2 separate regions of the Homo sapiens genome follow, and region 1 is linked to region 2. Evidence: promoter capture Hi-C in 16 types of primary human blood cells and fetal thymus (Javierre and others, 2016). All regions are on one chromosome and are shown on one strand. Each heading gives the region's core, a stretch centred on a gene start or on the middle of the fragment in contact. The rest is flanking DNA. Distances are from core to core; before and after follow the strand shown. Region 1 overlaps GATAD2B (GATA zinc finger domain containing 2B). Region 2 holds the start of NUP210L (nucleoporin 210 like).

Region 1 (4,476 bases), core at 1,717-4,216, 340 kb after region 2:
TTGCCCTCGACCTATATACTACCAACTACGCTGACAATCTCAAGGAAAGTAGGATCTGGGAATGTATCTTTGAAATTAGAGGAGAATTAGAAGATACAGTCACGGATTTGGGAACCTGAGGCAGTTAGAGTTTCCGGAATTCTTGTTACCTAGGTCTTAAGCAGTATGTGCCATTTTTTATCATCTTACACAAATAAGCATGATGCTTTTAAGGCTAACCCCAGAATGACCTAAATGAGAGTTATCTAGTAAATAGGATTAGGAGTAAGAGGAGTCAGTGCAGGAGATTTAGATTTCAAAGTAATTTCTAGACTCTTTTTGAGGTAAGATGCTGGATAAAACTCTGGTAAGTAGATGCAAGTTCAATATATTTGGTTCTGGAGGTTTAATCCTTTTCTGTAAGGCTGTAGACAATATTCTTGGCACTATTCCCTCAAATTATTAATACTTCCTTCTTTTGTGTACTCTTCAGTACCTACTCTTGACAGGATAGACTATTCTTTTTTTTTTTTTTTTTTGAGACGGGAACCTCGCTCTGTTGCCCAGGCTGGAGTGCAGTGGTGCAATCTTGGCTCACTGCAACCTCTGCCTCCCAGGTTCAAGAGATTCTCCTGCCTCAGCTTCCTGAGTAGCTGGGACTACAGGTGCGCGCCGCCATGCGCAGCTAATTTTTTATTTTTAGTAGAGACGGGGTTTCACCATGTCGGTCAGGCTGGTCTCGAACTCCTGACCCCAGGTGTTCCACCCGCCTCGGTCTCCCAAAGTGCTAGGATTACAGGAGTGAGCCACCGCACCCGGCCCCCCTTGGATTTTTTTAATTCAGCATAGAAGTTTTCTTAACTTTTGTTGGAAATAGCTTATTTTTTCCCTTTCTTGTCTAGTGAGCCAGAGCGAGGAAGGCTAACTCCCTCACCAGACATCATTGTTTTGTCTGACAATGAGGCTTCCAGTCCCCGTTCCAGTTCCAGAATGGAAGAAAGACTCAAAGCAGCCAACTTAGAGATGTTTAAGGTAAAAAGAAAGAAAAATTTCTTTCTTCTTGTTATGCTCCTTCTATTTTATTTAATTCCTCAAGAGATTTAGTTCTGTTTTTTGACTATTTACTCTTTGGATATAAATACCCATTGATGAAAACTTTATAGTAACTCTTGACTTCAAGGGCTTTCAAAAGGAACTATTAGAAGCAAGTGGAGACGACAGTTTGAAAAGCATATATGTAGGCCATTATACTCAGTGTTATTTATCTTTGGAAAATGAAAACAAAAGTTCATAATTAAGTCATATAAAGTAAACTCTTGGCTGTAAGGATACTTTCTGCACTCTAACCTAAGTAACTGAATATGAAGGGATTCCTAAGTTTTTATGTATATCTAGAGGAAATGTGGCTTTAAGAGATTTAGGAACATTATTTTAAAAGAAGACAATGTTTCTCTTTAGTCATTCTTCTTTTTGCCAGGAATCTGGCTGATTAGCATTTATACGTGGTCTGTCCTTTAATTCTGTAAGCATTTCTTTGAGTACCTACTGAATGCCAGGCACTGTGCCAGACTCCAGTGATACAAAGATAATCCTATTGCCACTTCTGCTTCTTGTGGAAGATGAAGGTTTCAGAGCTAAGAAGTAAAGATTGTCTCTTGCAGGAAGGAATTCTGGGTACCTTGCTGCCATAGCTGAAAGTCTTCTTGTTTCCTTAGGGGAAAGGCATTGAGGAGCGGCAGCAGCTTATCAAGCAGCTGAGGGATGAGCTACGATTGGAAGAAGCCCGACTGGTCCTGTTAAAGAAACTGAGACAGAGTCAGCTACAGAAAGAGAATGTGGTCCAGAAGGTAATGTGCCCTAGAAATAAGGGACTAAGGGAAAGGAAAGAAAAACTGGTTTGAGAGTAGGTTCCCCCAGGTAGGTTCAGTTGGGTGGCTCATTTCTTCTCTGGGTCCGTAGTTTTTTAGTCTGTAGTAGTAGTGATTTTTTTTTTAATCTTAGGCCTTAAGAAAACCTTGACTCCCAGCCAGGTGCGGTGGCTCACGCCTGTAACTCCAGCACTTTGGGAGGCCGAGGCGGGTGGATCACGAGGTCAGGAGATCGAGAGCATCCTGGCTAACATGGTGAAACCCCATCTCTACTAAAAATACAAAAAATTAGCCGGTCATGGTGGCGGGCGCCTGTAGTCCCAGCTACTCGGGAGGCTGAGGCAGGAGAATGGCGTGAACCCGGGAGGTGGAGCTTGCAGTGAGCCGAGATCAGGCCACTGCACTCCAGCCTGGGCGACAGAGCAAGACTCTGTCTCAAAAAAAAAAAAAAAAAAGAAAACCTTGACTCCCTTTTTCTGGTTTTTCCTCCTGATTGACAAGAACCTCACACTGACCAGGAATTTTTAAAGTCTAGAAATGTACCAAATTTCCACCTGTGATTATTGGCCACAGTCTTATTTTCTCTTCCCTCTCCCAGACTCCAGTTGTACAGAATGCAGCATCTATTGTTCAGCCATCTCCTGCCCATGTGGGACAGCAGGGCCTATCTAAGCTTCCCTCTCGGCCTGGGGCCCAAGGGGTTGAACCTCAAAATTTGAGAACATTACAGGTATGTGACCCATAGTGGGATCTTAGTGTTGGAGGGCCGTGTCTAATCCTGTCTCTGTTTTTGGGCTTTTGTGAAGATTATAGAAGAACCTGGCCATGATAGAGGTGTTATTACTACTGATTGTTCTGTTGGCCCATTATGGCATGATTTAGTCTTCAGTAGAAGGATGAGTAACTTTCATGTTTCCACTGTAGTTTTTCTTGTCTAGAGAATGCTTCCAGCTTCTCTAGAGAAGGGGTAGATAGTTTTCTATCTAACCCTATAGGATTAGATAGTTTATACCAAAAAAAGCCAAGGACTTCCCAGCCACTAATCAGGGTTTACAATGATGGTAGATTTATCCCATAGACCATTAAATGAAATTACCAAGTCTGGCTGTGTTCCTGTGTTTCTACTTAGCTATGTATTATAGGCAGTGTTTTCCCTTTTGCATTTTGTGCTGTATTATACACAGCGTACAACCTGTGATTAGTTCTTTTCCTCTTCTTCCCCTCCAGGGTCACAGTGTCATCCGTTCAGCTACCAATACCACCCTTCCACACATGTTGATGTCTCAACGTGTTATTGCACCAAACCCAGCCCAGCTACAGGGTCAGCGGGGCCCGCCTAAGCCTGGCCTTGTACGCACCACAACACCCAACATGAATCCCGCCATCAATTATCAACCGGTAAGAGAGAGCTGAGCCCTAATGTGGAAACAGAGAAATCCCTTTGTTTGCTTTGCTTGTCGAAAGGGCCATAGGTTTTAAGTTTTTATACATAGATAAACTCTAGGACAAAAATGGTTATTTTGGTAGGGATTTAATTGAGAGCAGTCCCAAAAGTAGAAGCTTTGAGGAATTATATTAAAATAGTAGTGGAGGAGAGAGGTTATACAGCAGAGCAGCAGTAAGCTAAAAATCTGCCTAGAAGAGAGTGATCTAGGGAATAAGAAGCACAAGGATGTGTGACAGAAAGCAAAATCTTATTTCTGTCTCTTTTTTGTTTGTTTGTTTGTTTGTTTTTTGAGCTGGAATCTCACTGTGTTGCCCAGGCTAGAGTGCAGTGGCATGATCTTGGCTCACTGCAACCTCTGCCTCCTGGGTTCAAGGAATTTCCAGCTAATTTTGTGTATTTTTCGTAGAGACAGAGTTTGACCATGTTGGCCAGGCTGGTCTCAAACTCCTCACCTCAAGTGATCTGCCTACCTCGGCCTCCCAAAGTGCTGAGATTATAGGCGTGAGCCACCACGCGTGGCCTTTATTTCTCTCTTAGCAATGTTAGCTCATGGTCATCATCATTCTCCTTTCCTATGTGTCAGAGTTCTTTTTCAATAAATAAGTTGACCACCTCCTATTTTTGGAGAAGCTAAGTAGTCCAAACCAGGATCAGACAGTGTCCTCTGCCAAGAACGTAAGAATTGGCCCTTTCTCCTGCATACCATGATTGACCGCATTCTCAATCTATTTCAGCAGTCAAGTTCTTCTGTTCCATGTCAGCGTACAACATCCTCTGCCATCTATATGAACCTTGCTTCTCATATCCAGCCAGGGACGGTGAACAGAGTGTCCTCGCCACTTCCTAGCCCCAGCGCCATGACTGATGCTGCCAACTCACAGGCTGCAGCCAAATTGGCTCTTCGCAAACAGCTGGAAAAGACACTCCTGGAGATCCCACCCCCTAAACCTCCTGCTCCCTTACTTCATTTCTTGCCTAGTGCAGCCAATAGCGAGTTCATCTACATGGTAGGCTTGGAAGAAGTCGTACAGAGTGTCATTGACAGCCAAGGTAAGGCTGTTTCTTCTAATCAATCTATTTAAGCAAGTGGTTGCCAAGCCTGATTGACATAGGCAGAGTATCAGAGGGTACTGTACAATATTAAATAACTTCTCCTTCCTGTTACCAAACCACCTCCCTCCC
Region 2 (5,056 bases), core at 197-2,696:
TAGGTGTACATCCTGCAGCTTATTGGCTTAAAATGTACTCTCCTTTTATGTGGTCTCTTTGGGGCCGATTGGGAGAAAGAGAAATCAATAGTGCAACTGTTTTGATACTGAATATTGACAAGTGTCTTTTTGAAATAAAGAACCAGTCCCTCCAACCCTCAGACCTATTTGACTTTTATTTATTAAAACTAAATGTGCTTTCTCCACAGAAGCTATGAGGTTTGGGTTAAAAATAGCATCTTTGTGGGTGGTAGCAACAGGATTTATTCTTTATTATTATTATTTTTGAGATGAAGTTTCATTCTTGTTGCCTGGGCTGGAGCGTAATGGCTCGATCTCGGCTCACTGCAACCTCCGCCTCCTGGTTCAAGAGATTCTCCTGCCTCAGCCTCCCGAGTAGCTGGGATTACAGGCACCTGCCACCATGCCCGGGTAATTTTTTATATTTTAAGTAGAGACAGGGCTTCACCATGTTGGCCAGGCTGGTCTCGAACTCCTGACCTTCAGGTGATCCACCTGCCTCAGCTTCCCAAAATGCTGGGATTACGGGCGTGAGCCACCGCACCCAGCTGGAGCAACAGGATTTAATATAGAGCAAATGTTTAGTTTTATCATCTGTAAAATGGAGATAAGTATTGTCAGAGTAAACATGAAGATTAGAAAGAACACTTAATGTGCTGGGCCTTTTATAGGTTAACACTGACATCTCAGGCTGAACTATATACATTTTCCTTCACAACCATATCAATCCTTATAAACTATGGATTTATGCTCCTTAAAACAATATATAATGCTGATCACTACTATAAATGCGTGGTTTTAACCAACTGTACTGAAACAGCTTTGAGTTTATATTCTGTTTGGATATTTGGAGAAAACAACAAGTGCTCTCAAGAGTATTTGCTTAGAGGCCGGCTGTGTGAGTGGATAACTTTGAAAGCTGCTTTTGAGACGCCAGTGTCTGGCATTTCCTGCATTCTGGCCTGGAGGCCGGACGTGAATCTGACTTCTAGTAAAAATACACGGTTCCCTTGACAAAGTCGAGCTGTTTATCCCAGAGACTGCACAATTTTCCGTTGATAGGCATGGACCAATGCTAACTGGAAATCATTGCAAAAAGTTTTTTTGTCGGGCGGAGGGTGTGGTGTTAAGATAAACAGTGTGCAACAGAAGAAATTAAAACTGGAAGAAATTAAAGGGTTTTTTTTAGACTTTTCTGCTTGTTCCTTACTGTTAAAAAGGTCTGCCATCCAGTATTTAGGAAAGCCCTTTAAGAGAGTTTGAGGTGTTTTAGCTGGGTTTGTGCCAAAAGTTTCCATTATATTGGCTTGCTGAAGGACTGCATTTAAAAATGCCCACACATCCGAGCAAGAAGCAGGTCCCATCCCCCTCTGCTGACGTCACGCCTGTGGATTGGCTGATGGAGCTGTGAGCCGGCTGTAGTTGAGCGGGAACCCGAGACCTGGCAGTCGCCATGACTGGCTGTCCGGCGTCATCAAGACGCCGAGGCTTCGGGCTCTTTTTCTTCTTGCGTCTACACCGCCTCCTGTTGTTGTTTCTGGTTTTGCGTGGGACCCTGGCCAACAAACTTAACGTGCCACAGGTGTTGCTACCCTTCGGCCGAGAGCCAGGCCGGGTGCCTTTCCTGCTGGAGGCCCAGCGGGGCTGCTACACTTGGTGAGGGGTGGTGGGTGACAAGGATATGCACCCTCACTACCATCCAGTAAGGGTGAGGGGGGTTCCCTCTGTAAGATCCCACAGGAATACCGTGTGGGGCCGCGTGAAGGGGCCTAGCCGGTAGGGGAGGAGAGTGTGGTGTCAGTGAAGGTGGCGAGGAGCAGACCCTTGGGTGTGGCGTGTCCTACTCATGTGGTATATCCTCCAGCTGTGTGACAATCTTCCAGACGTGTGAGGAATTCTCGGGATGTGGGACTGGCCTCTTCTCTGTGTGTGTTGGGAAGGGGTGGTCACTATGAGCAGCCGTCAGGGTAAAGGGAAGCCCTGTGTTGGAGGCCACAGGTACTGATGACTTCCAATGTAAACAACTAGAGTAAGAGGAAGTTCCCCATATCTGAGGAAATTTCTGTAGGAACAGGAAAACTTGGGGTGCGAGGGTCCCCACTAACTATAGATGAGCTATTCAATGTGAGAAGGACTTAAAACACAACAGCCAAGTATTGGGGGTTAACTAAGCACTTTACATGTGTTAACTCATTCGCTTTTTGCAGTCTTATGAAGTAAGTACTATTACTCCCATTTCACAGACGAGGAAAGTGAGGCCCAGAGACTATGAAGTGTAAACTTCTGGGAATATGAGAAGATTTATCGTGGGTGGAGATGAGATCTGTCTGTATTATCAAAATTGCCCCATTTATAAAAGGGTACCCGCTTGAAGTGTGAGGACAGGGGGTACACACAACTCCGGGATAATGACTTCCTGACTGAAGATGAAGAGACATGATTTTCTGGTGTGAGAGGACCCAATGATGGGTTATGTGGTTGCCTAAGGTATGAGAGAACCTAACCGAAGTGAGCTTCAGGATGCCAGTGCATTCATCCTAGATGGAGTAGATACCCCTTTGCCATCTCCTAGGAGAAGCAATGAGGTTTGTTCCGAGTATAAATTCACCTCTCATTTTATGAGGAAGTATAAGGAAAGTGAGCTTGTAAGATGATCCAGTGTGACGTGTGTGTTTCCTGACCGTGAGGGTGATGCAAGGCATCTTTCCAGCATTGAAAGCCATTTCTTCTATCACTCCAAAAATATTAATGAGGCCAGGCATGGTGGCTCACGCCTGTAATCCCAGCACTTTGGGAGGCCAAGGCAGGAGGATTACTTGAGGCCAGGAGTTTGAGACCAGCCGGATCAACATAGTGAGACCCCGTCTCTATTTAAAATAAAAACATTCGGCCGGGCGCAGTGGCTCACGCCTGTAATCCCAGCACTTTGGGAGGCCGGGGCAGGCAGATCACTTGAAGTCAGGAGTTCAAGACCAGCCTGGCCAACATGATGAAAGCCCATCCCTACTAAAAATACAAAAATTAGTCGGGCATAGTGGCAGACACCTGTAATCTCAGCTACTCGAGAGGCTGAGGCAGGAGAATCGCTTGAACCCTGGAGGCGAATGTTGCAGTGAGCTGAGATCGCCCTGCTGCACTTCAGCTTGGGCAACAAAGTGACTCGGTCTCAAAAACATAATAATAAATAAGAATAAAAATATTTATGAATGTTTTTGGTATTTTGAGTTGGACTCACACCTCATAATTTAGGCACCTTTTCCATCCTAGATATCAGAAGCCTGGTTTCTAGGATTGAAGGAAACTTTCCTCAGAGTATGAGAAAGTCCCCTCTCATTACTAGAAACACATCAGTCGTATTTCTGCATACTGAGGGAAGAATATAAAAATCTTTTAAAAAAAATTGAGGGAGGGATATTTCTGGGACTTTGTTCAAGGGATCATTGGGAAAGTTCTCATCAATCTCTCAGTTTAATTATCGCATCCCTAAGCAATGTTCCTTCTTTAAAAAGTGTCATTTACATATACCTGGTAGTATGTAACATGGAAGAAGTGTGAGAATCTATGTTCCACTAAAAGTTAATTTTAACCCACCTATTTCACACTCTTAAGAATTTTGTTCTGGCAGGCATTCCACCCATCATGATGCAGTTACTGTTGAGCCTTTATATGAAAATGGCACCTTGTGTTCCCAAAAAGCTGTACTCATTGCTGAATCTACGCAACCGATACGCCTCAGCAGTATTATTCTTGCTCGAGAAATAGGTATGTTGAGAGCAAAAACACTATGTATCACTTCTTCTGGGGTAGAATAATCTGGTATTTTGTATAGATAGTTAACACAAATGGTGTTGGCTTCAAATGATCAAAGGGAGAATAAATGATTCCTAGCTGGCTGCAGTGGCTCACGCCTTTAATCCCAGCACTTTGGGAGGCTGAGGCAGAAAGATTGCTTGAGCTCAGGAGTTTAAGAACAGTCTGGGTAACAGAGTGAGACCTATCTCTACAAAAAAAAAAAAAAAATTATGGCTGGGGGCGGTGGCTCGCGCCTGTAATCCCCCCACTTTGGGAGGCCGAGGTGGGTGGATCACCTGAGGTGGGGAATTTGAGACCAGCCTGGCCAACATGGTAAAACCTCGTCTCTACTAAAAATACAAAAAAATTAGCCGGGCGTGGTGGCGCACACCTGTAGTCCCAGCTACTCAGGGAGGCTGAGGCAGGAGAATCGCTTGAACCCGGGAGACACAGGTTGCAGTGAGCCAAGATTGTGCCACTGCACTCCAGCGGGGCGACAGAGGGAGTCTCCATCTCAATAAAACAAAATAAAATAAAATAAAATAAAATAAAAATGAAGAGTATTAGGCAGGATTTTCATTTTTTCTTTCTTTCTTTCTTTTTTTTTTTTTTTTTGAGACGGAGTTTCGCTTTTGTTGCCCAGGCTGGAGTGCAGTGGCGTGATCTTGGCTCACTGTAACCTCTGTCTCCCAGGTTCAAGCGATTCTCCTGGCTCAGCCTCTTGAGTAGCTGGGATTACAGGCGCACTGCCACCACACCTGGCTAATTTTTGTATTTTTAGTAGAAAGGGGGTTTCTCCATGTTGGTCAGGCTGGTCTCAAACTCCCGACCTCAGGTGATCTACCTGCCTCAGCCTCCCAAAGTGCTGGGATTATAGGTGTGAGCCACCGTGCCCGGACAGCATTTTCTCTTTTTTTAGAGACAGGGTCTTGCTTTGTTGCACAGGTTGTAGTGCAATGGCACGACAGTAGCTCACTGCATCCTGCCTGGCCTGCGCAACACAGTGAGACTCCATCTCTACAAAACAATAATAATAAATAAATTAAAAGAATTTTTAAAAACCACCTAAAACCTATTCTTAAGTGGACTTTGCAATTAGATAGAACTAATCTATTTTTGTTTCCAGCTTTGGAAAATTTCCTAGTACATCTGAGTCATCACTTTTCCCCCACTCCCTTTAACCTTTTGGTTCCTAGGGAATAAGAGTCCTCTGCTATTTTTCACCAGATTTTTTTCCAACTAC

The links. Contacts are between HindIII fragments. The CHiCAGO score rates a contact against its expected background, and 5 or more counts as called.
Region 1: a fragment that was not itself captured here is called in contact with the fragment with the promoter of NUP210L in region 2 in 1 of 17 cell types (M1 macrophages); the score reaches 5.7 in M1 macrophages.

Annotation. Positions count from the first base shown.
Region 1 is chr1:153,816,141-153,820,616 of GRCh38, reverse strand. It overlaps GATAD2B (GATA zinc finger domain containing 2B), which reads left to right. Exons shown (of 11, transcript NM_020699.4): 3 at 882-1,011; 4 at 1,695-1,826; 5 at 2,446-2,577; 6 at 3,075-3,245; 7 at 4,029-4,344. Among named protein-coding and RNA genes, the nearest start is that of SLC27A3, 43 kb to the right of the region's middle. The HindIII fragment of the contact is 887 bases long and covers 2,523-3,409 here.
Region 2 is chr1:154,151,463-154,156,518 of GRCh38, reverse strand. It overlaps NUP210L (nucleoporin 210 like), which reads left to right and starts at 1,446. Exons shown (of 40, transcript NM_207308.3): 1 at 1,446-1,677; 2 at 3,647-3,783. The coding sequence starts at 1,475. It also overlaps a transcript of TPM3 not described here. RefSeq lists a silencer at 328-505 and enhancers at 1,112-1,612, 1,613-2,113. The HindIII fragment of the contact is 10,459 bases long and covers 1-5,056 here.